7 separate regions of the Homo sapiens genome follow, and regions 2, 3, 4, 5, 6 and 7 are each linked to region 1. Evidence: promoter capture Hi-C in 16 types of primary human blood cells and fetal thymus (Javierre and others, 2016). All regions are on one chromosome and are shown on one strand. Each heading gives the region's core, a stretch centred on a gene start or on the middle of the fragment in contact. The rest is flanking DNA. Distances are from core to core; before and after follow the strand shown.

The links. The method cuts DNA at HindIII sites, captures the fragments that hold promoters and counts their contacts. A CHiCAGO score of 5 or more calls a contact.
Region 2: a contact is called between a fragment that was not itself captured here and the fragment with the promoter of SPRR2G in region 1, in 1 of 17 cell types (M0 macrophages). The highest score is 5.3, in M0 macrophages.
Region 3: the fragment with the promoter of LCE2C here is called in contact with the fragment with the promoter of SPRR2G in region 1 in 16 of 17 cell types (M2 macrophages, M1 macrophages, M0 macrophages and 13 more); the score reaches 24.3 in M2 macrophages.
Region 4: a contact is called between the fragment with the promoter of LCE2A here and the fragment with the promoter of SPRR2G in region 1, in 4 of 17 cell types (M1 macrophages, M2 macrophages, endothelial precursors and 1 more). The highest score is 8.8, in M1 macrophages.
Region 5: the fragment with the promoter of KPLCE here is called in contact with the fragment with the promoter of SPRR2G in region 1 in 6 of 17 cell types (M0 macrophages, M1 macrophages, endothelial precursors and 3 more); the score reaches 12.1 in M0 macrophages.
Region 6: a contact is called between the fragment with the promoter of KPRP here and the fragment with the promoter of SPRR2G in region 1, in 4 of 17 cell types (M0 macrophages, M2 macrophages, erythroblasts and 1 more). The highest score is 8.0, in M0 macrophages.
Region 7: a contact is called between the fragment with the promoter of LCE1D here and the fragment with the promoter of SPRR2G in region 1, in 7 of 17 cell types (endothelial precursors, M2 macrophages, fetal thymus and 4 more). The highest score is 22.3, in endothelial precursors.

Annotation. Positions count from the first base shown.
Region 1 is chr1:153,149,230-153,152,635 of GRCh38, reverse strand. It overlaps SPRR2G (small proline rich protein 2G), which reads left to right and starts at 1,746. Exons shown (of 2, transcript NM_001014291.4): 1 at 1,746-1,784; 2 at 2,505-3,054. The coding sequence starts at 2,526. The coding sequence ends at 2,747. The HindIII fragment of the contact is 711 bases long and covers 1,096-1,806 here.
Region 2 is chr1:152,646,444-152,649,849 of GRCh38, reverse strand. No RefSeq gene overlaps it. Among named protein-coding and RNA genes, the nearest start is that of LINC00302, 7.3 kb to the left of the region's middle. The HindIII fragment of the contact is 789 bases long and covers 1,259-2,047 here.
Region 3 is chr1:152,673,769-152,677,174 of GRCh38, reverse strand. It overlaps LCE2C (late cornified envelope 2C), which reads right to left and starts at 1,896. Exons shown (of 2, transcript NM_178429.5): 1 at 1,847-1,896; 2 at 606-1,180. The coding sequence starts at 1,159. The coding sequence ends at 827. The HindIII fragment of the contact is 8,836 bases long and covers 1-3,406 here.
Region 4 is chr1:152,696,624-152,700,029 of GRCh38, reverse strand. LCE2A (late cornified envelope 2A) reads right to left here and starts at 1,685. Exons shown (of 2, transcript NM_178428.4): 1 at 1,636-1,685; 2 at 588-1,148. The coding sequence starts at 1,128. The coding sequence ends at 808. The HindIII fragment of the contact is 4,015 bases long and covers 1,356-3,406 here.
Region 5 is chr1:152,717,900-152,721,305 of GRCh38, reverse strand. KPLCE (KPRP N-terminal and LCE C-terminal like protein) reads right to left here and starts at 1,784. Exons shown (of 1, transcript NM_001024679.3): 1 at 836-1,784. The coding sequence starts at 1,784. The coding sequence ends at 1,032. The HindIII fragment of the contact is 5,275 bases long and covers 1-3,406 here.
Region 6 is chr1:152,756,184-152,759,589 of GRCh38, reverse strand. KPRP (keratinocyte proline rich protein) reads right to left here and starts at 1,565. Exons shown (of 2, transcript NM_001025231.3): 1 at 1,531-1,565; 2 at 1-29. The coding sequence starts at 1. The HindIII fragment of the contact is 4,639 bases long and covers 1-3,406 here.
Region 7 is chr1:152,794,821-152,798,226 of GRCh38, reverse strand. LCE1D (late cornified envelope 1D) reads right to left here and starts at 1,506. Exons shown (of 2, transcript NM_178352.3): 1 at 1,456-1,506; 2 at 46-454. The coding sequence starts at 432. The coding sequence ends at 88. The HindIII fragment of the contact is 8,213 bases long and covers 27-3,406 here.

The DNA.
Region 1 (3,406 bases), core at 497-2,996:
AGTAACTTAGATGACTAAATTGTTTAGTTTCAGAGTACTAGGGAGGGATAACTAGCCTCATGTTGTTCCTCTGAGATGCTGAGAAAGAATTTAATAGTAGGGCTCAACTCAAAGACGTTCCTACCTCTTCAAATTCCCATGTTAGGTCCTCAGTTTTTTTTGTTTCTCTACTGTACCAACCCAATCAAGTTTGAAACATTGCAGATACAACACAGCATTCTTCTGGGTAAAGAGCACAAGGCAAAAATCTTCCCTGAGAGGGGCTTTCTCAGGAAAACAAGGTGCCGACCCTGTAGGTGCTATGGTACCCATGCCGTCTAATTAGTAGTGACTACAGCTAGAAGAATGGGGGATGCAGGGAAAGGATCTTCACTAGATAGGCCTCACTCTAAACAATGCCATTCTTTATTATCTGTTTTTGACATGTTTGAAATTATTGGTTAGTTATGATTAGTTATTATTCTTATTTCTTCTACATTTTAGAGTTTATATTTCTTAGAAGACCCACTATGTAATGTGCATAATTTTAGGCCACTCTTTGAGTTTTTGTAGGAGACTTTTGTGGTAGGTGTATTTTTTATTTCTGTTTTACAGCTGTGTAAACTGTGTTTCAAGGAGGTTAGGAAATATTTAGTTCCACACAGTAGTGGTGGCTGTAGATGTATGCATAACCAAGGTACTCAAGTTTTTTCCAAGTTGGGACAGTGAGTAATACTAGCTGAAGTGTTAATATGGTTAAATAAGCTATACTAAGAAATTATCCGTGGGATCTGTGCCAGCTATACTTTACTTATTTAGGTAAAAACATCCATGAAGTAAACAGCAGGATAAATAGCTTTACAGAACTTCACTCCTCGAATGTGCAAAGAAAGCCTGAAATCCTACTAAATGTCATTTCAAAAGAGAGAAATTGTGAAGGAGTAAATTGAATTAGCATGTAGGAGAAAAGCTTCAAAATGGATGCAGCACATACATTAAGGCAGTTTGGAAGAAAATGGGAGAAGATGAGTTTGGATTTCTAGTAGACCACAAGTCACTCATAGTTACAAGGGCCACAGAGATGAGGTTAGTGTGTAAATCTGCAAATGTGAAGCTTTAAGAAGGGGCCCCAACATGACTCTAATGGCCTAGAAAACTGAGAGATGATGTTGCCTTGTTCAAGCCCATTAATACCATGTCAGAACACACCCAGGTTGGGGCTGTCAGCATCTAGGAAGCTGATATATGATTTTGTCACCCTGTTCAAGTCAATTAATTGTCAAGAAAAGCCTAAGGATCAATAGGCCATGATAAAAGGGGAAGTTAGTTGTAAAGAAAAACTGCAGTTGAGGGTTAGGATATAGCCAGGCTGCAGGATCAGCACATACTGGTCTCTACTAAAGAGAACACAGCTAGATACTGGGCATGTGCAACTGAATGGGAGTAGTTTTACATACAGGATACTTTGGAAGCTGGGAAGTAGGAGAAGCACCATCTCTAATTATAGGGAAGCACCACAATTGTCAGACAATTTGTCACGTTCTACAATTGCCACTGGCATGAGGAACCTGAGATAATGTCCCAAGTGAATCACTGTGCACTTATCCTGCTGGGGAGGATCATGGACTAGGAATTTTGTGATACCAGCATGGATTACATGCAAGTGGTATTTTGGTTGGGAAATAAGCACATCATGCTAGTCCTGGGCTGTTCCCTGTGTAGGGCTGCCTGCCCCTTATAAAAGGACTCTCCACCACACTGATGCTATCTTCTTGCCATTCAGTTGTAGATCTTTGAAGACTCTGGTGAGTACAAATATTAGAAGCTTTTCTTGCACTTGGATGGTGTTAGGGTCTAACCTGGGTACAGAAATGCCTGTTTATTTTAACCAATTTATCCTCATGGATAGGAAAAAGAAGATAATGAGGTCTTGAAGGTAAATTTTAGCTGGTATTTGGTAGATAAACATGAAGGTGATGAGGAACCTGGAGTCAAATATATAAAATCTTAAACTGAAGGAGAGTGAGAGACACAAGATGCTGTTCTGTCTCCTGCTTCACATCTGTTCCAAATACATCTCTCTTGGAGTGCAATCTCCTTGGGTGATGGGTGCAAGTTTTTGCAATTCTCTTAAAAAACTCATGGCTCAGCACCACAGCCAGCTCATTAAAACTGGTAACTAGGGCCTCATGGAAGATAAGAGCACAGATTTGTTTGGTATTGGCTAGACTTTTAATATCTGAGTTTTTCTTCTTCAGATAGTGTTTGTATTCAGACAACATTTGTTGCTGTCTCATAGGCAATTTTATTTTCAGAAAATGGTAGAATGAGAGAACAGCCAGAAAGACGGAAGAACTGAGGGTAAGAGGTCCTAAAAGTGAAGTGTGAAGAAGGTTCACAAAGTCATAAAGACTGTATTAGGGATCAAAGTTGGTCCCTAGATACTGGAGATTTGATGTCCTAGCTAATTGCTCCACCAACAGGACTGTCTCTCTTATGAGCACTGTTTCGTATGTATCTTTCAGATTCTCTGAGACTGAGGAGAGATGTCTTACCAGCAGCAGCAGTGCAAGCAGCCCTGCCAGCCACCTCCTGTGTGCCCCACGCCAAAGTGCCCAGAGCCATGTCCACCCCCGAAGTGCCCTGAGCCTTACCTGCCTCCTCCTTGTCCACCTGAGCATTGCCCACCTCCACCATGCCAGGATAAATGCCCTCCTGTGCAACCATACCCACCCTGCCAGCAGAAGTATCCACCCAAGAGCAAGTAACATCACTAGAATTCATCAGGACCATGAAACAACAAGATCCAGTGGCTCTTCTTACTCCCAGGACTCCATCATCTTCCCTTCAGCTGTAGTGGGAGGCTGCATCTTCCCTAACCTCTGTCTGGCTTGAGCGTTGACAGAGAAAAGGCTTAGTTCTGAAAACCGATATGTTGTTGGAAGATGAGCAGCCAGATCACTGCCTAATCTCGCTTTGCTGTCTGTGATGTAGATGGTGGTTCCTATCCTGAGAGCAAGTGTGTTTATTCTTTTGCTTCTCCCCAATAAAGCACATGTTTCATGGTCAAGCCCACATTGCTTTTGTTTGCATTTCGTGTCTTTAACCTCTTCTGTTAACTACACCAAGTGAATGTTCCTTTTCATTCCTATTGAATTATTAGAATTATTAGGCTTTTCCATCACTGAATTCAGTGTTGCGTGCAATGTGTGTTTTGGATTCGGTACAACAAATAATTCTCTTTTATTGGTTTAAAACTCATTTTTACCCCTTCTAGCTTGTATGGCTGAAAAAATTACCTAAACTCTCTTAGCTTCAGTTTCATCATCTGTAAAAAGTAAGAGAGCATGTATTCAGCTGAGTGTACTCATAGCAATTGATTTATTCACAAATGTTTCCTAATTGTCTATCATGTGCCAGCCAGTCT
Region 2 (3,406 bases), core at 404-2,903, 500 kb after region 1:
GCTCCCAACTAGCTAGTTCCTGTCAGTCTTCCCAGGTTTTATAGTTGCATTGAGTGGAAGAAAGAGAATTTTACTCCATACATAGATAAAAGTCTCTGAATTATAATGTGAAGTATTTATTCTAATTCATTGTCTTTCTTTCCTTCTTCAGGTATACAAATTATATGTAAGTTAGATCTCCATTGTCTGTCTTCTATATTCATTACCTTCTGTCTTATCCTTTAGGGGTTTTTGTTGTTGTTATTCTTTTATATTTTCTAACTTGTGTGTCCCTTACTGTACATTTAGTTGTATTTATTATTCCTTGGATATCTCATAAGGAGTTTTGTATTTTGATTCAATTTCTTTTTTCTTGTCTTTTGATTCAACTTCTTTTCATATTCAGTATATTTATAATACTTTTTTTAAAAAAGTATTGGTCAGGGGCAAAAAGTGCTGATGAATTAAGAATTTACTTCATAGAACATCAAAGAATCTTATGTATTCATTTTAAACAATGGTGAATTATTTCTAATACCTCTGATGTTAGTGGAATCTTTTTAAATGCTTGTGACTTTATGTTTTTATCATTTAGGCCTGTGAATTCATATTCTGCTGGGGAGTATTAGAGATTCTGACTGGAAATAATTACGAGGGAAAGGCTCCAGTGTCTCTGTCAAGCCCCCAGTGAGGTCAAGGCCCCACTTTATAGTCCAAGCATCAGGAAACCAGCTCATCAGGTGAGGACTTTACCTCGATACTTCTCCTTCCCCCTCCCTGGCAAAAAATATTACCTACCTTTTAGATTGTAGTCTACCACCTTCTAGGGGGTCGGAGAAAGAAGGATGAGGATGTGAAACTCAAACTAATTTAATTCCCAACCATTTTCCTGAGTTCTTCACAGGAGCAGGGTTTCTCTATGTTTCCCTGGCTTTACTCAAGAGGGGACTTAATCCTCCATGGTAGCTCCCTGACCACCATACCCTGGGATCTGAAAATAGTTGAAAGGAAAACTTGGCAAGAACTCTCATCCTTAAGGATGAGAAATATTTTTAAATAGAGGAGTCCCAATTCCAGAATAGGCAAACAAACAAACAGCAACAACAACAAATACCCAGAAAACCCACCCTGGCAAGACTAATCTAGGTTAAAAAAAGAGAAGTTATCATCAAATATTATAAATTAAAAAGTTATGTATCTTCATAACAATAATAAAGCAGAGAACAAAATATAAAAATGAAAGACTGTCAATAACTATACACTGCCAACGTTGAAAGCTTAGACAAAATGGAAAACATACATTAAAAAGTATAATCTAGTAAAATAAGCTCAAGAAGAGACAAAAAGTATGAATTCTCTTATAACTAGTTGAGAAACTAAAGTACTATTAAGAAACATAGAAAACAATGGCCAAAATTGTTTTCTAGGCGAACAGTACAAAACTATAAAGGAGTAGATCGTTTCAAATTTATTTAAGGATATTGGGCATAAAAATTCAATCATTTTGAAAAACAGATTAGCTCTCCATTATAAATTTAAATTCTTAGCTACTAAATACACCAAGATTCAGCAATTCTGCTCCTAGAAGACATGTACAAGAATGCTTAGAGTAAACATCTGAAAACCACAAAACTGCCAAATCCAGAGATGTCCTTTGGTTTTGCACAGACACACTTACCAGGATGAGTCTCAGAATTAGCTCAGGCTGCAGAGGTGTCCAAAAGGAGGAAGAAGAAGAACCAGGGACACCTTTCATAGGAGGAGTCCCCAGGCTGGGCTCAGAAATGAGCCTTGTCTCTGGAAAGAGCAGGAGAAAATCTCTCACAACCAAGGAACACTTAGGGCCATTCCTGACATTCTCCTTCCAAAAGAGCTGTAGGAGCACTCCAGCCTCTCAATGGGGCCCAAGACCTGTGGGCCTTCAACGAGCCACACCCTTTCCCAAATATAAGCCTCAGATAGCCTGAGATCCCAAGAACCTGGTCACTGGGCTGAGGCTCTAAGGCCTGGGTCGCTGCGTGCCAGTCCCTTCTCATGAAATAGGTGGTCACATCTTTCTTGCCAAGCTTTGTGAGGTGGGGCTTAGATGAGACAAATAGGAAAGAGAGGATAGAAAACTTTAAGAGAGTTTTTTCAAAAGAATCTACAAGACTGGATGTCCCTTTGTGTATATGTGATGGGGAAAAGGGATAGATCAAAGATTATACCAAATGTCTTGACCAGATATCAAATGTCTTGACCAGAGAAATAATCATATGGTGGAAAGAGAACAAATATTGGGAGGGGTGTAGATTTGAGGTCCTAGCAAGACCTTCTGATGAATGAAGAGGTTCTGGAGACATTTAGAGATACCACCTTGGAGGTTATTGATTCCCAGTCTAAAGGGACTTGGAGATAAACTTCTGAAATCATCACCCTGGCATTCATCATTATTTACTCATCCATCTAACATAATTATTTATTTATTTGAACAACCACTTTACGGGGACCCAAGAGGATGAAAACAGGGTTTCTTTACTCAGCAGCTCTCACATTCTGATAGGATCAGAATTATAGAAATAAACACACATATCTTATAATGTTTTAAAATACTAGTAAGAAATCTTATGGAGTAGGGACAACTTTGTGAAATAGTATGCTGTTTCATATGCATTTCAGTACATGGAACAGTGAGAAGGCACACTAAATACTTGGACACCGGTGAGTGTAATGAAGTGCTTCTCTATCCCCTGCCACCAAAAACCAGGGGAATTGGCTTTTTTGTGCTTTTGTACCCACCGCCAATTAAGTATATAAGTGTGTGTGTGTGTGTGTGTGTGTGTGTGTACATGCATGGATGATGGATGCACACACACACACACCACATGTAAATGCCCATACACTTCAGTCCTGCCTCTCACTCCATCATGGTTGCTACAAACATCTCTTCACAGAGAATGAGGAAACTCAGGCTGACAACACCAAAGAAAAATTTGGACTAATGAAAGTATCTCACATATCTCATTGCAAAGTAGTGATTCAGGAGATGAAATTCAGAGCCACCTGCTTTGGACCTCATGGGCTTTTCTCATGCAAAGAAGTGCTTCAGAGATTCTAGTGGACTGTGAGCTTCTCAAGGTTAGAGGTTGTGTCTGATTCACATCCAAATCCCAAATTCCAGACTGATGTCCACAGACCTCATCTGGTGTGCTAAATGAATGTCCATTTAACCAAACACTTTGTTCATTTTTTAAATCTATTTTACATTTGGCCTGAAAGCTTGTGGAGGGTAGGGACCTTGTCTGAAAATAGGTAATAAATAAATAGAGAATGGAGCACCTCTAAAAGAGACTTTTAGAGGTCATATGTTTCTCCTTATTTGGGAACCTCAGTGAGGGAGTGGCCACTGCCATTTAGTTCACAGCTTTATTCTGCTCCTCAAACAATG
Region 3 (3,406 bases), core at 647-3,146, 480 kb after region 1:
TGTATCTTCTAAGCAACACTTCCATGTTTTTTCACTTAATATCTCCATCACTCATCACTCCCCTGCCCAGCACGTGAGCCAAGTGGCAGGACAGCATCCTGGGACTCAGATCTAACACTGTGAGGAACTGAAGCCAGGTGTCCAAGGCAGCAAGTCAAAAGGCTGATCTTAACCAGACTCATGAAAAGAAGCTGAGTGACCATGGGCTGTACTTTACAGGAGGAAGGGTCTCAACATCTGTTTCAAGCATTTTATCCAACTATTGATTCTAAGGGCAGGAAAGTTTTGCTTCATAGGGATGTGTTCTTCTCCCTAGAGAAGAACAAGTCTGCAGAGCTTCCCAACCTTCCCAACGTCTGGATTACACAGAAAATTAGAACATGTGTCTGGCTTAGTGGAGAGAAAGGCAAAGCTACCATAGCCAGAGGTGACCCTCTTGGAGCTCCATTCACTCAGCATCTGGGGGAATCAGTTCCTCAGAGCAGCTTTTCATGTATCACCTACTCATGTCCTGTCCTAGCCTCATGAAGAAAATTACTCTGAGGCCCTGACCTTTGGAGGACATTTGAAATCTCAGAAGAGAAGAGAATGACCAAGACATTTAGTGAGTCAGAGATCAGAGCTTTATTATAACATGAGGTAAAGGAGGAAAAGAAGACTTGCAATTGGGGTGTTACATCAAGCACGAAGTTCTTCCAGGAAAGCCCCATGAGTCTTTGTGGTCTCTGCCAACCAATGAATGGAATGAGAGGAAGTGGAAAGAGTATCCATCAGGCCGTAGCAGGTTCTTGGCCATTCAGTCCCAAGAGCTCTTCTGTAGCCCAGGTCAGCAGCAGCCCCCAGAGCTGTGGCAGCAGCCAGAGCCCCCAGAAGGTTCACTCTCACAGCAGTCGGGGCTCTGGTGCCGGCGCCGGTGGAAGAGACGGGGCCTGTGGTGGCTCAGGGAGCAGCCACCAGCCCCAGAGCTGCAGCAGCCCCCAGAGCTGGGACCACAGCAGCTCCCAGAGCTGGGACCACAGCAAGAAGAGACTGCAGGGAAACATGGAGCTGGGCACTGTGGTGGGCATTTGGGGGGACACTTAGGTGGACATTTTGGGGTACACTTGGGAGGACACTTGGGAGGGGGCTGGCACTGCTGCTGGTTTTGCTGGCAAGACATGCTGGCAGGAGTTTAGTCAACCTGAAAGATAATAATGAAACTCTTTAAATATTTCAAACCAAGGATCATATTATACCTCTTCTAAAATCAATGCATGTGTAGAAGAAGAATGATATTTAGATAATACAATCACATCAGTAACCTGAAAGAAACAACTTGAATCTTTCCTCTAGATAAAAGTACGTAGATAAAAAATCAACAGAATGAGCTTCTTACTCTTCCTTTCAGGGGAAACTGCGATTGCTCTATCCTCACAAGCCCGAATAGAGTATTCACAGCTCCCTGAAGTACCTATTCCTTTAATACAAGCCCTAAGGACAAGCTGGGTGTTGCAGGACATACCAAGGGGTCCTCTGGAAAATATTTTGCAATGAAACCTCCAGATAAAAGAGCCTGGCTTGAAGTATTTGCCAGTTTCCATGGTGTAAATATGCCCAACACAGCAGTTTTGAAGTTACCAACATGAAGTCACTGAACACAGAATTGGAAAAGATGTGCACAGTTAGCTTTCCCCACCTATATGAGCTCCGGTAGGCCTCAGAGCCTCAACAGATTCGAGGCAGGCTGAGTCCCATTCCTGCTCAGTATGGCAGAACACAAGCACACAACTCTTTCTCCAGCCTACCTCCATCCTCCCCATCCCTCTGCCTTGCTCATACCCCTCTGGTATCCCAGGTTGCCACTCACCCTGGTCACACGCAGGAGCACAGACACGTCCCTGGGGAGTCAGAGCAGATGAGATGCTGAAGCTGGATGTGTCTTTTATAGGGCCCAGGCTTGGCTCTGGAAAGAGCAGGAGGTGGCTCTTGCACAACCAGGCACACGCTGGGTCATTCCTGACATTCTCCTGCCTCTTAGTCCCTGCAATCCAAAGAGGCCTCAGGAGCTTCCAGGACTCCTCTCTGGGGCTGCAGTCTAGAGAGGCTGTAGCCAGTCAGAGCCTCCACCAGGTGGGAACCCTAAAGAGTTAACTTAGGGTACCCAAGGGACCCACACCTGGACAAGATTCTGTTCCCTGCATTTTTTTAATGCATGTCCTCTGAGGAAACATCAGTTCTGAGCCACAGCTTTCCCTGACCTTGTGGAAATGTTCCATTATGACTCCCTCCACCCTGAGCAGTTTCTCTTCCATGTCCTGCTGTGGATCCAGCCATCCCAGAGGGCTTCTACAGCCTTGGCTTTTTCTAGGCATCCCTCCCTTGCCTAGGCTCTCAGCCCTTCCTCCTGGCCTCTGTGTTTCTGCTTTTCCTCCGACTCACCATGGCAAGCAGATTCGGTGGATTAAATCTGAGTTGATTCTGTCACCTAAAGCAAGGAGAATGATTGAGAATAAACAATTCCCTCTAAAATCTAAACATTTCCTTCAGTCAGAGGACTTGTATTGAATGTGCTACTGGAATCAGAAAACTTGCATATGATAACTGGGTAATCTCTGAAAGTTGCTGTAACAATTATCAATAATTGCTAGAGTATTACTATGATACTCACTGTGAGTATCAGTTCTCACATATAATGCCCATTATAAACCTATCAGTGAGATATACCTATCTCACTGAGCTGTTTGTAATATAAAGTGAGAAGCAAGAAAGAGCTAAGTATGACATTTTGTGCCTGATAGACCCTTAATAAATATATGTTTAATAGAAAAACTAATGCCATGTATTGGATACTTGCCCCGGTCTTATGTGTCATTAATTGCCCATATAGAGCCCTTACCCTCAGAGAGCTTAACTCCACCAGACACTTAGATTATTTGAAACCTGTCTTGGGAAGTAGACATCATTTCTTGGGGCTCCTATGCAGAGGGAACTCCTTTCCTACCAGGAAGTAGAGGGTCAGCCAGGAATCTAGTTATTCAGAGTTCTGATTCAGGGTTGCACTAGACAGAGTTACCCAGTCATTTATTCATTTAGTTTAAACAGATACATTGAGTGTGAACCTTGAAAACATTACACTACGTGAAAGAAGCCAGTCACAAAAGACTGCATATTGTATGATGTTATTTATATGAAATGTGTAGAGTAGGCAAATCTCTGGAAATAGAAAGGGGATGAGGCTTTAGCCAGTTACAGCCTCTCCCAGGCTGGACCCCTGAAGAGCTGACTCAGGGCATCCGAGGAACAAGAGCCTGGATGAGATTCTGTTCCCTGTATCTCCTTTTATGTTTATGCCTGTCCTCTGAGAAATATCAGTGGCTTCCAGGTGCTTTAGCGGGCTGGGAGATATTGAGAAGTTACTGCCAATGGA
Region 4 (3,406 bases), core at 436-2,935, 450 kb after region 1:
CAGCCTTACACTGCTTACGTATTTATTTAACAGTTGTTTCGTGGAGAGGCTGGAACATGAAAGAAAGCAAGAACTGGACAGACTCTTCCTCCCTGGAGAGTAGTTAAGTGGCAATGAGTTGTCATTTAAACTTGCCCCTAAGGGTTCTGATTCTCATACCAAGCATTTTAAATCAGATGAAAAGAATTCTGTTAAATATACCTTTTTGCTTGGAGTACCAAAGATTTTTCTAGCTTTGTCATCATGGTATGAAGAGAAAATGAAAATAAGTTACATTCAGCATGGTGAGTTAAACTGAGCAAGCAGCACATGGCCAGCGGTTCTCAGCCCTGGGGCTGTCAGTCCCTTCAGGCCCCTGCCTGGGCTGAGAGGGTCCACATCTCACAGTCTCCAAGTGCACACAGGCAGTCCCATTGAGAAGCCCTACTGTGAGGCTGCTCTTTCAGGATTGACCCTCTGGAGACTGCTTCCAGCATACCTCTTTCTCACACTCCACTCCTACCAAAGCATCCTTAAAAGTGTACGGCTGGGGCACTGGACTTTAAGGGATTTGAAAAGAATAGAAGAATTGACAATGGCCAGGGTACTTCACGAAGAGGCAAAAGAGCTTTATTGTTGTATGAGGTAAAGTGGGAAGGTAAGATCAGGATCCAGGATGGGCTCTTGGGCCATGACAACAGACAAAACACCTCACAAGGTGTGTCAGCCCAAGGAAAGGAGAAAAAGGGGCAGGAGAAGCATCACTCTGGGACAGGTCCTGGTTGCAAGTTTCTCCATAAGGGTTGCTCTGTGATGTTCGAGGTCTGGTCAGCAGCAGTCCCCAGAGCTGTGGCAGCAGCCAGAGCCCCCAGAAGGTTCACACTCACAACAATCGGGGCTCTGGTGCCGGTGCCGGTGGAAGAGACGGGGCCTGTGGTGGCTCAGGCAGCAGCCGCCACCCCCAGAGCTGCAGCAGCCCCCAGAGCTGGAGCCGCAGCAGCCCCCAGAGCTGGGACCACAGCAGGAAGAGACTGGAGGTGGGCATGGGGCTGGGCACTGAGGTCGGCACTTTGGAGGACACTTGGGTGGGCATTTTGGGGGGCACTTGGGAGGGGGCTGGCACTGCTGCTGGTTTTGCTGGCAGGACATCTCAGTGCGACTTTTTCAACCTGAAATTCGAAATAGTCAAACCCTTTAGCTGTGAAAAACCAAGGATGGCAATTTTATCTCTTTTAAAACTAAATCATATGGTGATGGTGAATAATACTCAGTGTGTGTATATATATACACATACACACATATATATCAACAAGTGAAAGAAAACAAATCCTGCTGAATGAAAATATATACTTGAAAATCAGATATAATAAGAAGCTTCTTATTCTTTTAGAAGATAGGCAGTATTTTCTAATCTTCATGAGCTTGAATAAAGTATTCATACCCAACAAAGTATCCATTTTTGAAATATAAGAATAAGCCCTTGATGAAACTGTCAGATACACATTTCTCACAGCCCAAGGCAAGATTTCCAGAAACTCAAGTCAGACTGTATCTCTTTTCTGCATATAATAGCACAGAATCAAAGAAATAACTCTCTGAAGCCTCCCTTAATCTTCCCATTCCCCTGTGCCCTCTGGCTCCCAGGTTGCCACTCACCCTGGTCACACACAGGAGCACAGACACGTCCTGGGGAAGTCAGAGCAGATGAGGTGCTGGAGCTGAATATGTCTTTTATAGGCTCAGGCTTGGCTCTGGGAAGAGCGGGAAGTGGCTCTTGCACAACCAGGCACGTGCTGGGTCATTCCTCACATTCCCCTGCCTCCTTGTCCCTACAATCCAAGGAAGCACTGGGAGCTCCCAAGACCTCCCTCTGGGAAGGGGGTCTAAAGGAGCTTTAACCAGTCACAGCCCCCCCCAGGCTGGTCCCCGTGGAGCTGCCAGGGGATTCTTAAGGAGCTTGTGCCTGGACAAAGGCTCAAAGAGTGACTTCTGAGAACACCAGAGATCCTTGCCATAGCTTTCCTGTGGAAGTATGCTATTCCAGCTTCTTCCCATCCCCAAGTATAGTTTTCCAAGCCCTGCTTCCACAGCTAGGCAGGTTTCTTTGTGGCATTGAGTCAGAGACCATTTCCTTCCTAGGATACACTCCTCCCCTTCTGCTCAGCCCTCATTCCTGACCCCATGTTGCTGTGTGGCCTGCAGAACCCTGCTAGGAGGATTAATAAGTGAATCAAGATGGTTTCCTCAGATTTGGTGGTGATGATCATTGTGACTAAACTTCTTCACTTAGAAATTAAAATGTCTACTGTGTAACAAGGCAGTTTTTAAAATAAGCCAATAGTTTTTTGAATTGGAATCAGAAGAGCTCTGTGTTTATGAGCCCAGTGACCTCAAAGACTATATATAGACAATCTAAATCCTCAACTGTAAAACAGGCCTATTAGCACCTTCCTCTCTGAATTGTTGGTTCCATCAAGTGAGGCTTTTGCACATGATAAGGCACAAGGAAGACACTTAAACAATGTCATTTTTTAAAAGAACGAGGGCAGTGTGTGAGACAGAAAAATGGACAATATTCAGTCCCTGTCTTTGAAAATTTTATTTAAAAATATAGGTAGGCTAGCGAAGGCTCTCTTAGGAATGTACAGTGTACATTCAGGATTTTGAGAAGTCTAATTATTTCTTGTCAAGAAGGTGATGGGAATCAAATGATTTATTTAATCTTCTTAGTGAATGACAGGAGAGTAAGGAATCTGATACAATTTTGGATTAGATACATTCATCCATTAATCAATTTATTTCATCCATCCATCCAACATTTACTGAAAACCTACTGTATGGCATAAGTTAGAATACAGCTTTTGAAAAAGATAGTCCCTTCTTTCATATACCCTTGGTCTAGAAGGTAGGAGTATATGGTCTTTACATTTCTGTCATACTAAGAGATGCCCCATCTCCAATAGTTTTCTTTTCTAGTCTCAGATGTAGTTCCCTACCCTTGAGAGTGTTCAGGTCAAGAGTGAAAAATGTTGATATCCAAACATAGCAGTTAATCAAGAAGATACTGCTTTGTCAGCTCCTAGGTATTCAGTGATTTTCTATCCAAACACTTAGGTTTATAGAGGCAAACACTGTGTGTGTTTTGTGACCTCTAGGAATTCACAATTCAGTGGATATTCTGAAGACCTCTGTGAAATTTATGTGCATACCAAATGAGTCTATTTTCCAATGAGATTGTTGGGACACTGGATCACCTGATAATGCCTGAGGGAATGTCATGCTAGGTTCCTCATTCTCCTTGACAAAGATGATAGTAACCATGAAGGAAGAGAATGGGATGGGCTGTGCCTTTATGAATGTGTGTGTATGTGTGTGTGGGCAGCATGGGCATGAAGGTGTGCTTGCAAGTCCAGGGACAAGCACAGCA
Region 5 (3,406 bases), core at 535-3,034, 430 kb after region 1:
AGAAACAAACACATGATTCCCTTTTTCATTCATTCCTTTATGCGTTCATTTATACATCACCAAACATTGTCTCCTATGCACCAGACCTTGTGGGATTGTTTTGAACACTTGTTACTCCTCTATTTTTTTAATGTGTGTATTTGGAATCTTTAGTTACAAAAGTCCACCCCAAATTCTCTAGAGCTAGCTAAGCAATGGAGAAGAAAAAGCTAACTAGGGTGAGGGGCCCAGAAGGGGGCCCAGAAGCCCCTCGCACAAGATTCACCTTCCTTTGGAGATGGCTCACTTACTACCAGGACTGACCTGGTGAATACCTACCCACTTCAGGGGGCTCCTAGCCTTTTCCCTCAGGCCTTCAACCTATAGTTTCAACAGGGCAAGCCTGTCAGATGAGAAAATGTAATTCATAAAGTCCTGCATGGGTTCAAGCCCTCTGCACAGTGGTGGAGACATGGTCCAGTGATACTGACCATGACCAGTGATACTGGTCCATGAGCAGATACAATTTCACAATCTCTCCAACACCCAGGAAGATGAGGGTCTCATCATGGTCAACCCTGCTCTGAGGCTCATCAAAGGGCAGCACAGAAACAGCCCCAACCCTCAAATCTCCATTTTCAGATGCTTCTAACTTGCGTGGGAAAGTTTATTCACAGCATTCTAGAAGGCATGGGGCTCCCAGGCTGGGATTTCACCAGCTCAGTCTGCTTGTTCATGTTCGTGCAGATCTTTCCTCTAGCTGAGAAACAAGAGTAAGAAGAGAGGGATGCAGAAGAGTGCCTGATAGAAAAGCATAAATATGGACCAAACAAACAGACAGAAATTACCACGAAATGCATTCAGAGCTTTATTCATGCCAAAGTTTGGGGACTGTACTAACTCTGGCAGGCTGCCTTGGTAGAGAAGCAAAGCACAGAGGCAAAGTGATGAGGTTCTACATCACTGGCACTAACAGAGAGGGGGCCAGAAGCTGGTGCATGTTCCAGAAGGGGTAGCGGGGCAGTGCATTCTGGAGTTGAGCTGTCGTATGTTTAGCAGCAGCAGTCATCCTCATGGTCACAGCATGCAGGACCTCGGGACCTCATGGGGATAATTCCCAAACAGCAGCACCCAGAGCTGCCACATCCACAGCTGCAGCCACAGCCCCCAGAACCACAGCATCCAGAGCTTCCCGAATTCTCACAGCAGCCAGATGATCCTGTGTTGCAGTTCTGGGGCCGCTGAATCCAGCGTCTCAGGGGACTCACCCCGAAGGTCCGGGGAGCCAGACAGCAGTAGCTGGTGGAACAGGGAGCAGAGCATGGGTCAGTGACACAGTACTGGGAGGTTGAGCCACTTGCAGGAGCTTGAACATAATAGCTCTGGCAAGGAGAAGCACCCTGGACATAGCACGTCTGGGTCTGGCAGGGAGCTGGACTTTTGATGTAGGTCATCTGGCAGGGAGCTGGGCACTTCACGTAGGTTTGGCAGGGAGTTGGGCATTTTACATAGGTTGTCTGGCAGGGAGCTGGGCACTTCACATAGGTTTGGCAGGGTGTTGGGTATTTCACATAGGTCCTCTGGCAGGGAGCTGGGCACTTCACGTAGGTTTGAGTCTGGCATGGAACTTGGTACTTCACATAAGTTTGAGTAGGGCATGGAGCAGGGCCTGTCACACAGACAGTTTGGGTCTGGCATGGAACTGGGCATTTCACAGAGGCACCATTGCTACCCTGCCCAGCCCCTAGTCCCGAACCTTTCACACAAGATGGAGGGAACTGTGGCTGCTTCTGCTGGTCACACATTGTTCTGTGGCTTTGCAAAATCTGAAAAGAAAGGTTTCATTAGAACTGTAAAACCAGGAAGGTTTCTAGGGGAAACCTTCAACATCCCCTTTGAATACAGTGATTTGCAAGCAAGGCTTTCTTGAGAAGGTTGCAGACATCCAGAGGCTGTATACTTGGCAGGAGGTGGATTCAGAGCCAGGGACTCTCAGCTCAGCTTCTGTGCCTGTACCTGGCTATGTGGCTTGGTACAAGTCATCGCTTACCTCTGGGCCTCAGTCTCTATATTGGGAAATGGAGGCTTGAAATGGTGCTGCCTGTGTTTCTACCCAACTCTCCAAGCCTCCTCTCCTCTTTCTTCAGTGTCTGCATTGTGAATTACCCTTTGGAAATTGCTGCTCCCAGATGATTGACCCCTGCCACCAGTTCTCTCCAGGGTGACTTCCCTTCTTCCTTCTGCCCAGACAAGGAATACCCAGCAAAGACAAATTTATGTCCATGGACCCTGAGCCAACATGAGCCTCAAGCTGTGCCCGGTACTGAGCAAAGAACAAGGCTAAATTTGAGCAGGTTTCTACCAGGTGCTCCTTGAACCAGCTGGACTAATCAGTTGGCCTCATTAGCACATAGACCCAAGAGAGGACTGCACAATTGCATTCAGATAAGGGGATGGGGAGCCAGTTCTCTAAAGTCCCTTCTTAAACAGGAATGCCAGCTCATCGTGTCCCCCTCCCTCTCCTCTCATGCCCCAGGCTCCAAGTTTCCCACCAGCATTGCTTTCAGCCTCCTTCAGCAGATTTCCTAAGCATCTAGTCCTCGCTCACCCTTCATCCCACAGCTCTCATCCCACCCCAGCTTCCCCAAAGCTCTGTTTCTCACCATGTCCTTATCCCGTATAGAGACTTACCCTCTTTGCTGATAGGAGCAAGACTGGAAGAAGTCAGTGATCTGAAAAACTAGCAGGTGGGGAGACCTTTTATAGGGCAGCAATGAGGCAATTTAATGGCATCTAAATGAAGCACCAGAGATCACAAGGAGAAGGGATGGTGTTGCATTGGCAAGATTCCTCCCCAGTATGCCTGGCTCCTCAGTCAGAGGCAGGGCATGTCTGTGCTTGACATTGGGTTTTCCCAAACACTAGATAAATGATTCCTGTTCCCTTCCTCAGGAAACAAGTCAGTCTCCTTTTCCTATAAGTTATGAGTGATGCCTATGTGATCTGTCTCTAATGAAGCTGTTTCCAGGTCACTTGAGTCTTCAGGACTTATCCAAGTTATAGTTAGATTCTCAATTTTTCATACACTGTGCCAAAAGCTAAGTGTAGCTCAGAGAATCAAACTAAAATTGAGAATCTAATCTAAAGCTAAGTGTAGCTTTTGGCACAGTGTATGAAAAATTGAGAATTTAACTATAGATTCACCTCACTTCACTCAGCCTAAATGAGTGTTCTGTGGGCTTCCAAGGTAACTTCTGCTGGTCTAGGTTGCTGAGCACAGTTTGGCCCAGTGGTCTCTGGCCCAATATGACACAAGACCTCCAAAAAATGGTTTGTTTCATGGAACATCAGGTTATTCTAGGTTCATTTGGAAACTGGGTGGGTGCTTAATGATCCTAGGCCCCAGGCTGGAGTCTAGACTGCCTCC
Region 6 (3,406 bases), core at 316-2,815, 390 kb after region 1:
TGGTCCTGATGCAGCCAGTCAAGAGTGACCTGAGGGCAAAGAGACCAGGGTCAGGAGGGTGAGAGTTGGAGAGGGGGTGCCAGGACCTAGAGGAAGACACCCTGCATCTTCCCTAGCTTTTCTTCCTCCACCCTCAACTTTCATCCAAGTGTCCTGACTTAGTTCGACCCAGGATTAATCTGTTAGACCTGCCCTGGGTCTGTCAAAGGGCACATCCAGGGTTGCAGATGTCCAGGATCTCCCTGGGGGTGGACCTACCAATGCCCAGAAAAGAGGGCACTGATGACAAAAGGATTCTCCTTTCGTCTCCACACTTTCTCACATCCAATGTGGTCTGAGCAGCCCTACAGGAAGTAGAGATAACAACTTGCTCCTAAGGCTATAGCCCAAAGTGGAAACTCCATTCCCACAGGAGCTTGGATTTACTCACACATGTGCACTGGCAGTACACATAAATGTGCAAACATGTAAGAACGTACATATGAGAATAAGCACTCAGCACCATCTGCATTCACAAAATGTCAAAGCATTCACTGGAAAGCGGGCAGCTCAAACCCAACATTAAATGTTTGTTTCTCTATATTCAATGTTTTTAGATAAATTCATTTAAACATGATACAATGTTTTGAAATAAATTCATTTAAACATGACACAATGTTTTGAAATAAATTCATTTAAACATGACACGTGCAAAGTGTGCCCATGCAAAACACACCAGCCTTGGAAAGACTCTGACCACCATGGCAACTTGCCCAGTCAGGTTGCTGTTGCTAATCACCTGAAGTGTGACAGTCTGCAGGCCTCAGAAATGTTTTTCCCCAGCTCTTCTTAGAGGCAAGGTGGAGTTACCTAAGATGGAGTAAGCCAGAAAGTCCAAGGTTCTTAATCAGAAGACGGACATTCTGCCATACTTAAAGATCTACGCAGCTGGGGCATTGCAAACATAACGTGAGGGCTGCAGGCATACACCCTGACACCATGCTTAGCTGGGGAGAGCACAGGGCAGCCTCACTCGTCTGCTTGTGTCAGATGCACGTGTTTATGTGCAGGCAGCCCACTGACCAGCAAAACAAGATCATTTGACAACAGGCTCATCCAACAAACCGTCTTTCAATAAGCTCCCCAAATGCTCCTGATGAGGGTTCAAACCTTCTATTTTCAATTTGTAGAGAATACCTACATATCTATTTCCCTGGGGAAGGTAACCCTTCCACACACAACTTTGCTCATAAGGTGTAAATTGCTAATGTGGCTTTTCCAGAAAGATCATGAGGGAAAATAGTACCTGAGGATAAGGTCAGGGTTATCAAAGGCAAATACACTAGCTTCACAGCCCTAGCTCATCTCGTAAACTCTGTAGCTATGCTTCTGTCTCCTAAAAGCTCACCAGACTTTTCTCCTCAGGTTAATGCACCCCTCGCCCTCCCTGGTGCCTAGCTTCTCCCTTCTTTGTGCCTCACGACTGTGAACCTGGGCTCTCCCCTGAACATCACATCCACCCCGATCCCAGGATCCAGTTCCTAGACTCACCCTCCTCACAGGCAAGCAGTCCTTCAGGCTGAGGCATCTGGGAAGAGGGCTGTCTTTATATAAAGGGTTCTGGGTCTGGCTTGGGCCATGAGACAGCTGGTTGGCATCCGCCTGGTGCATCAACCGGGCTGGCATTCCAGCAGCTGGTTCCCTCCCTGTGTGCCTGCCCTTGCCGTCACCTACAGAGTGTGGGAGTGGCTTGTCTTAGTGTTGAAGCCTCAGGACTATGAATAGCAGATTCTTATTTTCTTCCTCCTTCATTGCCCTAACAGTTTCTCCTCCATCCCTAGAAGACCTGATGGTCGGGAGATGAGGAGTGACAAAGGTATCTTCTCTCCTAAAAGATGATTGTATCTGCCAACTTCCACTTTGCTTCAGATTCTTACCAGAGTGACATAAAAGAGGAAGTGTTTTCTAACCTGAAGTAATTTAAGTTACTTCAAAGATAGAGGCAACTCTATAGAAGGATGAGCCCATGGGGCCAAAGGTGAGTCTAACATCCCAGGCCGTGTACTTATAGCTATGCAACCTTTATAAACAATCTGAGTATCAAATTACTCTTCTGCAAAAGAGAGATAATTAAATCTTCCTTCCTGATTGTTGTGAGGATTAAGGCAAAAAACCAAACACCGCGTGTTCTCACTCATAGGTGGGAATTGAACAATGAGAACACACGGACACAGGAAGGGGAACATCACACACTGGGGACGGTTGTGGGGTGGGGGGAGGGGGGAGGGATAGCATTAGGAGATATACTTAATGCTAAATGACGAGTTAATGGGTGCAGCACACCAACATGGCACGTGTATACATATGTAACAAACCTGCACGTTGTGCATATGTACCCTAAAACTTAAAGTATAATAAAAAAAAATTCATCCAAGAATGATGTTTAAACTATCCCAAATCCACTCAGGGTAAATGCTGGCCATAAGCCACAGGCACTGCTGAGTCATGGGTGCCTGCTGCCTCCCCATCCTGAGCTGAGCAAGTGGATGCCTGCACAACAGGTGCTCAGTCAATGCTGCAGAGCAGTATTTGAAGGCAGCACCAGGCAGGTAGTGCTGTGGAGTAGCCCTTAAAGGCAGCACAGTGCAGGGCAGAAATAATAATCTGGTACTCTGTGAGCCACATAGAGTCAAAATGGACAGCTCTTTATGTTTTCCCTCATAATACTGTCATTAATTGTTAGTATTTAAAAATAGGCAGATTTTATTAAAGATTCCAGAAATTCAGATTTTCTTCTGAAATAAAAAGATCTAGCATAGTTGAACATACCTTCCATTATCCTGATTAGCAGCTGCCCACCTTAGATAGGGCATTGCTATAGTTTGCGTGTTTATCCCTTCCAAACCTCATGCTGAAATTTGACCCCCAGTGTTGGAGATGGAGCCTAATAGCAGAAGTTTGGGTTATGGGGGAGGATACCTCATGAATAGATTAATGCCCTCTCTGGTAGGGGTGGAGGTTAAGGTCTCTCTCTATTTGTTCCTGCAAGAGCTGGTTGTTAAAAAGAGCCTGGCACCTCCCTCACCCCTCTCGTGCTTCTTCTCTCTTCATGTGATGTCTGCACAGCCTGCTCCCCTTCACTTTCTACCATGAGTGGAGGTGGCCTGAGTCCCTCACTAGAAGCCGATGCTGATGCCATGCTTCTTGTTCAGCCTACAGAAATGTGAGCCCAATAAGCCTCTTTTTTTTTTCTTTTCTAAATTATCCGGCCTCACATACTCCTTTATAGTGGCACATTTGGACTACGACAGGTAAATATTTTGCCGTTCTATAATTTTCCGTTATTCTTTTCTATATCTACAATGTAATTCAGTGTAAGTTTCCTTATGTTATTTTACTTGTGCTTTTATTTTCCTTTGGTAAAATT
Region 7 (3,406 bases), core at 257-2,756, 350 kb after region 1:
GGATTCTCCAGGCAAGACTTCAAGCTTTTGCTGGAACCTCTCAGCTATTCAGGCAGAATCAGAAGGAAGAGGAAGTCAAGGTCCACTTCAGCAGCAGCCTCCAGAGTGCTGGCTGCTGCCCCCACCGCAGCAGCTGGAGCCCCCCGAGGGCTGGCTGCAGCAGTCAGAGCTCTGGGGTCTGCGACGGTGGGACCTGTGGCGCCTGTGGTGGCTCAGGCAGCAGCCACCACCCCCAGAGCTGCAGCAGCCCCCAGAGTTGGAGCCACAGCCGCCCCCAGAGCTGGAGCCACAGCAGCCTCCGGAGCTGACACTGCAGCAGGAAGAGACTGGAGGGCACTTAGGGGGACATTTAGGGGCGGGGCACTTGGGAGTGCACTTGGGAGTGCACTTGGGAGGGGGCTGGCACTGCTGCTGGCTCTGCTGGCAGGACATCTCGGTGGTGGGTGTTCAGGAGCTGAGGGAGAGTCAAATAACAAGTCAGACCCAGGCAGAGGCCACCTCTGCCCCTGTGACACTCTTAGCACCTCTCAAGTTTAAAAGCATCATCTTCAGTAGTTTTATTTCCAATAATTTCCTCAAAATCTCACATCATCTTTTTCAAGATATCTTTGGATGTCAGACAACTGTAAACTAAGACTAAACAATATTGCAAAATGCATCTAAGATTCTGATGTGTTGTCAGTGGAGGAAGAAATTATTACAAATATATCTTAAGACTGAAATTGTCTAATTTATGAGTCATTTAAGAGAAAATTATTTTTAAAGGAGAAGAAGCAGTCATTCTCTCTGGTCATAATTTGCAAGACGATTTTACTTTGGAAGGTCAGCATTGTGCAGGATCTTGGAGACTACTAGGTCAGTAAACTCACTTCAATAGAGACAGATAAACTTAGCAGTTTCTGCAGACTAGTACTTGAACCCTGACCCCCTGATCTCAGGTTGGAGCTCAGACTTCCTCACTCACCACCTGCTCAGGCTGATGGGATGACACGGTGGGTCTCAGGCTTGGTGTGTCCTAACCAAGCTGGGAAGTTTGTGAACAAATCTCAGACCCATGAAAATGTGGGGTTCATAAACCCCAAAGAGTCTTTAGTCCCATGTCCACAGCTCCAGTTCTTCCCTTGCAGGCAGAGACAGGGTTGTATCTTCAGAGGTGGGCTTCCCTCCTGTGGGCTGCCAGAGTGGAGCAGGTCTCTGTGCTTCAAAGTTCCCACTCTGGAACACCCACCTCATCCCAGAGCAGTTTGTTTCCTCTAGAGTTCAAAGGCACATGGCACAGCCCGCCAGCTCTTTTCCTCTTTTCCTTCCTGCTCCCAGTTAGTGCCAGACCCCTTTTGGCCCCCGCCCCTTCAGTCTTTTCTAAACTCTCCACCTCTGACAACATGGCCCTAGCCCCGGAGGCCCTGCCCCTCCTTCCCTCCTGCTCTGTTCTGAGCATCCCTGCTCTGTTCTTACCGGAGTCACAGGCAGCACAGGGTTCTTTAGCACCTCAGGAGGTGAGTGGATGGGGTGGTCTGGCCCTGAGCCCTTTTATCCTGGCCTGGGCTCTGCCCCAGCTGTGAGACAGGGCCTGGGCATGAGAGGACCTTCCTTCTGACACCCACGTGGGTCTTGTGATGGTTGGTGACTGACAGCTCCTCACCTGCCTCTCTCCCCAGGCTCAAGGCAGCCACTCCCAGGTAGGAAAGTGCCTACTTGAAACGGGGTTCCAGGATGACTCCTACCATCACCTACCTCATTCACTTGAAGGCTGCTTGCCCTGAGAGCCTCTCAGTTCTCAGTCTTAGAACTTAGGACCTATCTCATTTCTGTCTCTTCCGAAGTACCTGATGCTCCGTGCAGCCTGGGTTGAAGTTGAAGTACTAATCCCTGAGGTTTCCATGCATGTTTATTTCTGTCCCTGTGCACCACCAAACTGTGTGGCTGTGGGTGCAGTGTAGACATCTACACAAGTAAAACCCTGGAAGTATAACCCGGCCCAGGACCAGGCCCTGCGAGATGGGACTGTTGAAACTATTTAGCCTGTACCATTTTTTAAACCATAAAGCTGGAAGATGAAAAAGAATTAGTTACAGAAGAATTAGTTGGTTGTGAAAGTCAATAAAGTAACACAAAAAAGAGAAAATGTGCCTGACAGAGAGACTGAAACATTGTAGGCTCTGAATAAGTGAAACATTCATAACTTGCTGAATACAGAATGAAGATACTGATCTTTGTTTAACAAACGAAGCACAGCTTTTTTCTAATGAGAGTGAGTCTGGCTGTTTGGTGATCTGTTTGCTTTTAAATAGCCCTTTTCTTCTGGTGGGGTCCTTGATGTGTCAGCACTGAGATGTGAACAAGGAAGCAGCTCATTAGAGAAACAAGAAGCAGCAGCTCTGCTCTTTGTATTGGTGTGAGAATTTGGACTTTTCTGGGTTCACACTGGGAGCACCGGATGATGGTCACAGATGAGAAACAGGAAGAAAAGAGACATGGTTGTGAGACATTATAAGTCTACGCTTCCATGTGGGGTCAAATGGCTGGCAGAACCCCGTCCTGGACCATAAGGGGACGGGTGCCTTTTAAGAACAAGAGTCCTTAATATTTAATGTGAATGTGTTTATGCTGCTACTTTGGAAGCCCCTCTCCTCTCTCTCCACTAGAATCACTAGCTTTCTACATGTCCACAGGATTTATATGAATGGAGTGTTCTGAATTTATACATTTTTAGGATATTAATGAAATGGGCTGCTGTTCATTCTAGGACACACTAGTCACTAAGACAGCCATGACTGCAAGGTTATCCACAAATTAAACTATTTCTTCAGAGGAAGACCAAGAAAAGCCAGATTAAACCATATGAGGGACAAGTCCTCTTCTTCCCAGCCCCTGACAGACTCTGGATATGCCCAGAACTTGGGAATGATATCTAGGTCAAAATGGACATGGTGACCCTAACCAAAACGTGGTGGAGATACATGTATATTTATAAACACATATACAGAGCATACATATTGAGAGAGATGTATATGTGTGTGTACCACCTGTCTCAGAGCATCAATTATTACAGCTGCCCAGACTCCTGTGATAACGTAGTATCTCCAAACACTGTAGTGTGTCTTTGATTCTGTTCTTTTATGACATCCAAGAAAACATCTTCCATCCCTGTACATAATTAACACTAAATCATTAGTAAAGTCTTGTTCATGATTGCACACTGTATAAGGGTAAATGTCCAAATTCCTTCAGTGAAATAAGACTCTGTGTTCTCCCTTTAGTTTAAGCCTTTGTCATCTACTCTCAGAAATGTTCTGAAACTGAACTGGATTATATTCTGTACTTTGATTATGCTTCTCCCTGCAGTGCATGCCGTGGCCTCTACCCTTCCAGGACAGTGTGGCTCAATCCCACTTTTTTATTTATC